Regions from separate parts of the Homo sapiens genome. Here region 2 is linked to region 1. Evidence: promoter capture Hi-C in 16 types of primary human blood cells and fetal thymus (Javierre and others, 2016). All regions are on one chromosome and are shown on one strand. Each heading gives the region's core, a stretch centred on a gene start or on the middle of the fragment in contact. The rest is flanking DNA. Distances are from core to core; before and after follow the strand shown.

What was found. The method cuts DNA at HindIII sites, captures the fragments that hold promoters and counts their contacts. A CHiCAGO score of 5 or more calls a contact.
Region 2: a fragment that was not itself captured here is called in contact with the fragment with the promoter of PSMD4 in region 1 in 1 of 17 cell types (monocytes); the score reaches 5.2 in monocytes.

What each region holds. Positions count from the first base shown.
Region 1 is chr1:151,252,258-151,257,069 of GRCh38, forward strand. It overlaps PSMD4 (proteasome 26S subunit ubiquitin receptor, non-ATPase 4), which reads left to right and starts at 2,477. Exons shown (of 10, transcript NM_002810.4): 1 at 2,477-2,551. The coding sequence starts at 2,526. RefSeq lists an enhancer at 2,369-2,558 and a silencer at 2,599-2,738. The HindIII fragment of the contact is 14,627 bases long and covers 1-4,812 here.
Region 2 is chr1:150,374,295-150,379,106 of GRCh38, forward strand. The region is part of intron 1 of RPRD2 (regulation of nuclear pre-mRNA domain containing 2); the gene reads left to right. Among named protein-coding and RNA genes, the nearest start is that of RPRD2, 13 kb to the left of the region's middle. The HindIII fragment of the contact is 1,920 bases long and covers 1,781-3,700 here.

The DNA.
Region 1 (4,812 bases), core at 1,227-3,726:
GACTATAGGCACCCACCACAATGCCCGGCTAATTTTTGTATCTTTAGTAGGATGGGATTTCACCATGTTGGCCAAGATGTTCTCGATCTCCTGAACTTATGATCCGTCCGCCTCGGCCTCCCAAAGTGCTGAGATTTCCCAGCCTTGGTTTTCTTTTTTAGTCTTGCTCTGTTACCCAGAGCAATCTCAGCTCACTCTAGCCTTGACTTTCTGGGCTCAGGCGACTTTCCTACCTCAGTCTCTCAAGTAGCTGGGACTACAGGCTGGCACCATCACAATCAGCTAATTTTTGTATTTTTTTGTAGCGACGGGGGTATCCAGGCTGGTCTCGGACTCCCAACCTCAAGTGATCTGCCCACCTCGGCCTCTCAGTGCTGGGATTACAGGCGTGAGCCACCGTGCCCAGCTGGCCTTCTTTTTTTCATTATGGGAATTTCCAAACCAAAAGTAGAGTAGTATGGTGAACCACTATGTACACATAACCCAGCCTCAATAATTATCAACATAAATAAGACCAGCGTGGCCGGGTGCAGTGGCTCAAGCCTGTAATCCCAGTTTTCGGAGGCTGAGATGGGAGGCCAGGAGTTAGAGGTTGCAGTGAGCTATGTATGATTGCACCACTGCTGCACTCCAGCCCAGTGAGACCTTGTCTCTTTTGTTTTACTTTGAGACCCTGTCTCAAAAAACAAAACTATTTGTTTCTTCCAGAGGATTAAGTTAAATCCCAAACTTCATATACTTTTTTTATCTATGAATACAACATATAACCCTTAATAAAGCCTACTTTTATAAGGGTGATAACTTTAACACTATTATCATGCCTAAAAAAATTGCTTAATATCAAATATCCAGCTGATGTGATGGCTCACGCCTGTAATCCCAACACTTTGAGACTTTTTTTTTTTCAGAGATGGGGTCTGGCTATGTTGCCTACGCTGGTCTCGAACTCATGCGCTCAAGCCATCCTCCCACATCAAAAAATTAAAAACAAATTAGCTGGGCTTGGTGGCATGCACCTATAGCCCCAGCTACTCAGGAGGCTGAGGCAGGAGGATGGCTTGAACCCGGGAGGTGGAGATTGCAGTGAGCCGAGATCAGGCCACTGCACTCCAATCTGGGCAACAGAGCGACACCCTGTCTCAAACAATAAAACTTTGTAGAGACGGAGTCTGGCTGTGTTGTCCAGGCTGGTCTCAGACTCCTAGCCTGAGTTGATCCTCCTGCCTGGGCCTCCCAAAACGCTGGGATTATAAAACCTAAGCCATTGCATCAGGCCTTGAATGTAATTTTTGATTAACCAAAACGGTTTAGTGGTTTGTTCTTTGGCAGATTAGTTAATATAATTGAGTTGTCAAATCTTTTCCGGGCTCTGTACTGGGCTTAGGGAATTGTAAAGATTAAGACACGTTGCCGGCCAGGTGTGGTGGCTCACGCCTGTAATCCCAGCACTTTGGGAAGCTGAGGTGGGTGGATCATCTGAGGTCAGGAAATCGAGACCAGCCTGGCCAACATGGTGAAACCTCGTCTCTACTAAAAATACAAAATTAGCCGGGCATGGTGGAATGCCCCTGTAGTCCCAGCTACCTGGGAGGCTGAGGCAGGAGAATCCCTGGAACCCAGGAGGTGGAGGTTGCAGTGAGCCGAGATCGAGCCACTGCACTCTAGCCTGGGTGAAAGAGCGAGACTCCTCCGTCTCAAAAAAAAAAAAAAAAAAAAAAAAAAAAAAAAAAAAAAAGGCACGTTGCCCACCCTTAGTTAAACGAGGGAGGAGATAAATATACAAATAAATTCAATTGAAGGGTATAAGGGCTTGTTGAATTAAAATTCTACAGGGAACTGAGGGCTGTAGAAAGTCATTAGCGATCCCGACACTTTTTTTTTTCTTTTTTTGAGACGGAGTCTCACTCTGTCCCCCAGGCTGGAGTGCAGTGGCGCGATCTCGGCTCACTGCAATCTCTGCCTCCCGGGTTCAAGTAATTCTCCTGCCTCAGCCTCCCGAGTAGCGGGGATTACAGGCGTGCGCCACCATGCCCGGCTAATTTTTTGTATTTTTAGTAGAGACAGGGTTTCACCATGCTGGCCAGGCTGGTCTCGAACTCCTGACCTCGTGATCCGCCCGCCTTGGCCTCCCAAAGTGCTGGGCTAACAGGCGTGAGCCACCGCGCTCGGCCGATCCCGACACTTTTTTAAAATGCCGAAGCCGGAATCGACACAGCACTTTCAAAGGTTCCTCCATAGCTCCCCTGAGATCCGGCCAGCGGGAAACCCCAACTGAGAACTGCAATGGCAGGGAAAGTGGAGGCTAGATCCTGTTTTTTGTGTTACCGCGATTCCCTTCAACTACCCTCAAGACGCCTACAAATTTGTTTGGCGGCACCTACAACTCCCAGAACGCAACGTGGGGGACGGAGGCGGAAGCAGCTGGCCAAGCCGAGGTCTGTGATTGGTGAAGAGCGACGGGCCAATTGGAGGAGTTGTTGTTAGGCCGTCCCGGAGACCCGGTCGGGAGGGAGGAAGGTGGCAAGATGGTGTTGGAAAGCACTATGGTGTGGTGAGGAGCTACTTCGGGGCAGGAGGGGCAGAGCTGGGTTCCGGGCGCGTGTAGCGCCAAGGCAGGGAGGGCCTGGGGTGGGGGCCAGGGGCTCATGGGCGAGAGGCGGCCCTGGCCCCGGAGGTAAGGAGCCCGCTGGACTCCCTGAGTCATCCCGGGGCCCTGGAGTGGCGGATAGTCCCGGGTTACCACTGTTACCCCCAGGGGGACGGTCATTGACTGGTCATTCCTGCTTCCTTTCTCTGTTCTAGCGCCGTCTTCTCTAGAGCAGCCCGGGTCTGTCTTTAGCTACAGTTCTGCTTTTCGGACTCATCGTAATAGTTTTCTGCCCTCCTTTCTTTGCAAAATAACGTCTATTAGGAAAATAGATTATTAATCCCTTCCTCTCCCCATTCCCTCGTCTCTAACTTCATTACCTTTCCCTGTATCATCTTCAAAGGTACCATTTACAGATTGCTTTTTATGTATCAGTCATTTTGTTTATCTCACTTATACCTCACAACCACACCTTAAGGTAAATTATCTCTCCATTTTACGGTTCAGGATACCGAGTCTCAGCGATTTTAAGTGATTTGTCCAAAATCATACAGCTAGTTAAGTGGTGGAGTCAAGATTTAAACCCACGGCTGTCTGACACAAAGGCTTTATCCGGTGAGGTAGCTCTCTTTGTCAGTTTCAGGCTTGGGCTGAGTACCTATTACGAGTCACATTAGAAGAGGAGGACATAAATTTTTGCAGGGTTTCAAGAGTTCCTTCTAAGTGTAATCACTGAATGTAATACAGAATAGTTGACGAACACAAATCACCGATTGGGTGAAACAGGCACCTATGAGATTTCTTCTTTTTATTTTCTCGGGGGAGCATAGCATTGCCAGATAACATACAGGATGCCCAGTGAAATTTGAGTTTCAGATAAACGATGAATAATTTTTTTTTGAGACGGTCTCGCTCTGTCTCCCGGACTGGAGTGCAGTGGCCCAGTCTGGCTCACTGCAGCCTCCGCCTCCCTGGTTCAAGTGATTCCCAGTGATTGAACTAATTTACACTTGCACCAACGATAGAACAGTGTTCTCTTTTCTCGCAACCTTGCCAGCATCTGTTATTTTTTTAGTTTTTAGTAATAGCCATTCTGACTGGTGTTAGGTGGTATCTCGTTGTGGTTTTGATTTATTTGCATTTCTCTAATGATCAGTGATATTGAGGTTTTTTTAATAGGCTTGTTGGCTGTATGTATATCGTCTTTTGAAAAGTGTCTGGCTGGGGCGTGGCTCAGGCCTGTAATCCCAGCACTTTGGAAGGCTGAAGTGGGTGTATCACCTGAGGTCAGGAGTTACTGACCAGCCTGGCCAACATGGTGAAACCCCATCTCTACTAAAAATACAAAAATTAGCCAGGCGTGGTGGTGGACGCCTGTAGTCCCAGCTACTCCAGAGGCTGAGGTGGGAGAATCGTTTGAACCCCGGAGGTGGAGGTTGCAGTGAGCCGAGATGGCGCCACTGCACTCTAGCCTGGGCGACAGAGTGAGACTCCCTCTCAAAAAAAAAAAAATAATAATAAAATAAATAAATAAATAAATAAATAAATAAAAATAAAGTGTCTGATGTCTGTTCATGTCCTTTGCCCACTTTTTTTTTTTTTTTTCTCTTTGAGAAGGAGTTTTGCTCTTGTTGCCCAGGTTGGAGTACAGTGGCGCCATCTCAGCTCACTGCAACCTCCGCCTCCCTGGTTCAAGTGATTCTCCTGCCTCAGCCTCCTGAGTAACTGGGATTACAGGTGCCCGCCACCACGCCCAGCTTTTTTGTATTTTTGGTAGAGACGGGGTTTCATCATGTTGGCCAGGCTAGTCTCAAACTGCTGAGCTCAGGTGATCCACCCGCCTCAGCCTCCCAAAGTGCAGGGATTACAGGCGTTGAGCCACTGTGCCCGGCTCCTTTGCCCACTTTTTTTTTTTTTCGCTCTTATTGCCCAGGCTGGAGTGCAATGACACAATCTCAGCTCCCCGCAACCTTCGGCTCACCGCAACCTCCGCCTCCCGTGTTCAAGCGATTCTCCTGCCTCAGCCTCCTTAGTAGCTGGGATTACAGGCATGCGCCACCACGCCCAGCTAATTTTGTGTTTTTAGTAGAGACCAGGTTTCTCCATGTTGGTCAGGCTGGTCTCGAACTCCCACCCTCAGGTGATCCGCCCGCCTCAGCCTCCCAAAGTGCTGGCATTATAGGCGTGAGCCACTGTGCCCGGCCGGTCTTCCAGGATTTTTATAG
Region 2 (4,812 bases), core at 1,491-3,990, 880 kb before region 1:
AGAAAGAACCTAGAAGCTCTGCACTCTTAGCCCTACCTTGCCCCCTCCATCTCTTCATCTGGTGTTCATTGGTGTCCTTTGTTATGTCCTTTATAATTAACCAGTAAACGTGTTTCCCTGAGTTCTGTGAGCTGCTCAAGCAAATTAATGGAACCCAAGAAGGGGGTTGTGTGAGCCCCGATTTATGGTGGTTGGGTCAGAGCAAATGTTAACCTGAGATTTGTGATTGGCATGGGAAGTGGGGGGCAGTCTTGTGAGACTGAGCACTCAGTCTGTGGGATCTGATGCTCTCTTCCAGTGTCAGAATTGAATTGGAGGGCACCTAGCTGGTGTTCATTGCAGAATTGCTTGCTTGGTGTGTGTGGGGAGAACTCTCATACATTTGGTCAAAGAAGTCTTTGTTGATTGTTGAATGAGAATGTAGGAAAAGCACTTTTAAGTTTGTTTATTCTCTATTCTCAGAAGGCTGTTGGGGCATTCTAGTATTTTAGATGACTCTTTCTACTTAGTCTAGTGTGTTATTGGCTTAGGTTCTTTTTGAGGTTCAAGGTAAACTTTGTCTCAGCCCCCCAAAGAAGTAATAAATCTATTTTGGTCTCTTGCGTATTTTTACTCTTGGTTTACGCTTAATGGCATTTCTGTATTCATTGAGCAGGAGCTCTGTTATAATTGGTTATTATCCACCCTCTCCCTCCCCTTTAGATGCCTAAGTCACCTTTTTTTTTTTTCATTCCATTGCTCTAGGTTCATAGAGTTATAGGTGGTATTTTTCCAGGTTTCTGGCAATGTTTCGAAACATGGAACTGTCTTAATTATAAACTATAATTATTGTAATGGTATATATTAAGCCTTTTTGTCTGTATTGTGAGACTTTCCAAGCAGTTGTTATCTTCTTCCTTTTAGCTGCTTAGTCTCTTACAGCAGAAGGGTGATTTCATCCATGGCCTTAGGTGGGTTTGAAGCAATATGTAAAACATAATTTTACTATACCAAATTCCATAGTAAGCTAAAGAGTAAATTTTGTAGCAAATAAACATTCCCATAACTAAAAGTGTGAAACACTACTGACAAACTTCACATGGTTCTGTGACATGGAGGTATCTTGAAAGGAAAATTACAATAGCAGTGGAAAAACACTAATATTAAAATTTGCTCACAGAGGCCACCCAGAATTACTTTAATGTTAGTTTTGTCTGTAGAGGAGGGACGAGTGTATGTATGTGCGTAATTTTTTAGGGAGTAGAAGCTTACTGATTTTATTCTTTTTTGTTGTTATCAGCTTCCTTGGGTTGAATGATTTTACTCTTAATGATTTGGCTTCCTGCCTTTCTTAAACTAATAAATAATAGTTGCATCAAAATTCTTTCTTCCTCCTAGGCTTTTGTCAGTTATGTTCTCTTTTTTCCTCCCACTTTTTCCAGGTGTTTATTGTTTTACAGCAGTACTTTTAAAAGTCAAAAGGGGAGATTTTGGTCAGTTGTTTTAAAATTTCAATTGAGAATTAAGGATACATGAGGTTTAATTTGTTGAAGGAACTCAGAGACCCTAATAAAAATTACCCAAGAACAGAACAATTTACAAACCAGCTTGACTGACTTTCTCATCTATTTGTCAAGGAAACAAAAAGTAGTTGTGTTTCGTAGTGATTTCAAATTCCACTGCCCCCACAGATATTAATTATAGAACACTGGAGGAATGTACATCTTAGGGAGAAAGTAGTAGAACCTAGTTATTCCTTTTGAGAAAAGGCAACAATTCCATCTGTGCTTTGAAATATTAAAGCTTTTCTGGCTAAGATAAAGATAGTTTTTAAAAATGCTTCATTCTTATTCTCTTGTTTTTAGAGAAATATTGAAATAGAGGCTCTTTGATGAAGGAAATGAAAATGTTTGGTTTGCTGGGTTTAAATTTTACTAGTGTTTGATTGAGGCCTTGATCTCTCCCTCATCTCTCTTTCTTCACTTCTTTCTCTTATAATTAATTTCACTTACTTGCACTTTCTAGTTCTCTGGAATCCATTAGCAGAGAGAGAGAGTGATTCTTTATTACCCTTTAGTAAAAGTTGCACTGTGAAAGGAAAAAAGGATCTTTTAATGTTTGGGATTATAACTTAACATTTTTTGTTTTAAAAAACCTAGAATGGATCCTGAGCTGTTTTTGTGTTCCTTTACTGTCATCATAGTTTTAGAGTGTAGCATGATACAGTCTTTTTTTTTTTTTGAGACGGAATCTTGCTCTGTTTGTTGCCCAGGCTGGAGTGCAGTGGCGCCATCTCGGCTCACTGCAAGCTCCGCCTCCCGGGTTCACGCCATTCTCTCGCCTCAGCCTCCTGAGTAGCTGGGACTACAGGCGCCCGCCACCACGCCCGGCTGATTTTTTGTATTTTTAGTAGAGAAGGGGTTTCACCGTGTTAGCCAGGATGGTCTCGATCTCCTGACCTCGTGATCCGCCCGCCTTGGCCTCCCAAAGTGCTGGGATTACAGGCGTGAGCCACCGCGCCCGGCCGATACAGTCTTTTAAAATGATGATCTTTGTGTCTAGGAGGCAGTATTACTTGAAAGATTAAAATTCTCTTATAATATGTTATGCCTAAAGATACAGAATGAGAAAATGAACTTAGAAATACTGAGTGCTGGCCGGGCGCTGTGGCTCACGCCTGTAATCCCAGCACTTTGGGAGGCCAAGGTGGGGAGATCACCTGAGGTCAGGAGTTTGAGACCAGCCTGGCCAACATGGTGAAACCTTGTCTCTACTAAAAATACAAAAATTAGCTGAGCGTGGTGGCATGTGCCTGTAGTCTCAGCTACTCGGGAGGCTGAGGCAGGAGAATTGCTTGAACCCAGGAGGCAGCAGTTGCAGTGAGCTGAGATTACGCCACTACACTCCAGCCTGGTGACAGAGCGAGACTATCTCCAGAAAAAAAAAGAAAAAAAGAAAGGAAATATTGAGTACTTCCTCTATGTAAACCCCTGTATTGGGTGCTGAAAGAGATGGAATTATAAGGAACTTAACATTTAGTAAATGGGCCGGGCGCGGTGGCTCACGCCTGTAATCCCAGTACTTTGGGAGGCCGAGGCGGGCGGATCACGAGGTCAGGAGATTGAGACCATCCTGGCTGACGGTGAAACCCCGTCTCTACTAAAAATACAAAAAATTAGCCAGGCGTGGTGGCGGGCGCCTGTAGTCCCAGCTACTCGGGAGGCTGAGGCAGGAGGATGGTGTGAACCTGGGAGACAGAGCTGGCAGTGAGCCGAGATCGTACCACTGCACTCTAGCCTGGGCGACAGAGCAAGACTGCGTCTCAAAAAAAAAAAAAAAACATTTAGTAAGTAAGATAGGAATTGAACACATATAACTGGTTCTGGGAAGTATAATAATATGAGTTTTATATGCTCTAACAGTTTAGAATAGGTATCACTTTGGTTGGATTGCTGGATCCTTATTGTTTACTGAGGATCCTTACTAGCTATCATACATGTATTACCTATAATCTTGATGTCAGCTCTGCAAAATATGAATTTGTAAATTTATAAAAAATATGAATTTATAAAATATAGATGTGTAACAGTTGAATTTATAAATTTATTAAAAATTTATAAATTGAGTCTCAGAGAAGTAAATTGATTATTTTGGGGAAATTGTCAGAACATTTATAGTGTAGGAAAAGGAAACGTGCCTGGTTTCAGAGTGGCTAAGCATAAGCTTAATTTTGTTTTATATAAGCAGAAGTCACGTGAAGGTAAGTGGGAGAAAGAAAAGAAATACGGTGGATTCAAAGCCCAAGTTGCTTACAAGTATGTTGTTATTACTTAATAATCTTATATTTCCAGTCATTAATGTAGTTAATTTTACAAACATAACACTAATAGTTTAGTAAGAAAATAACATTTACTGAGTTCTTATGTGATTTCATTTAATATAACAATTCATTAGTTAATGTATTATTACTGAGTAAATCTATTAGTGATGTATATGTAAATTACACTGGTGACAGGTAAAATAATAAACCCTATAAATGACAATAAATTAAGTACTTGAGGGCTCAGTGAGGTTAAAATAACTTGTTCAAGGTACACAACTAATGAACAATAGAGCCAGGTTGCAAACTTAAGCAGTCTTGACTCCAAGGCCTACACTTTACCATTATGGTAGACGGCTTCCTGCTTCTTTCAGAGTATATTGGTATTTTATAGTGTTCCATGGACAGTGTGGTATATACAGGATAAAAGTTCCCAAACAGCCTTGCACCTGCCCATTCTCATATAGAAGCAAGTAGAAGAACACACTTCTCTCCTTTTAAGCCAGACCATTAAACAGATTTGCAAAAATGAAAAACAATTTGCTCCCACTAAATTTTTGTTTTACAAAATATAGTTATTTTTAATTAAGAAATAATTTATTGGCTAGACAGGGTGGCTCACTGAGTGCCTGTAATCCCAGCAACTTGAGAGGCCAAGGCGGGTGGATCACATGAGGTCAGGAGTTCGAGACCAGCCTGGCCAAAATGAAGAAACCCCATCTTTACTAAAAATACAAAACTTAGCCAGGCATGGTGGTGCGCGCCTGTAATCCCAACCACTTGGGAGGCTGAGGCAGGATAATCCCTTGGACCCGGAGGTGGAAGTTGCAGTGAGCCGAGATGGTGCCACTGCACATCAGCCTGGGCAACAGAGTGAGACTTCATTAAAAAAAAAAAAAAAAAAAAGGCCCAGCTGAATTGGCTCATGCCTGTAATCCCAGTACTTTGGGAGGCCCGAGCAGACAGATCACAAGGTGAGGAGTTCAAGACCAGCCTGGCCAACATGGCGAAAC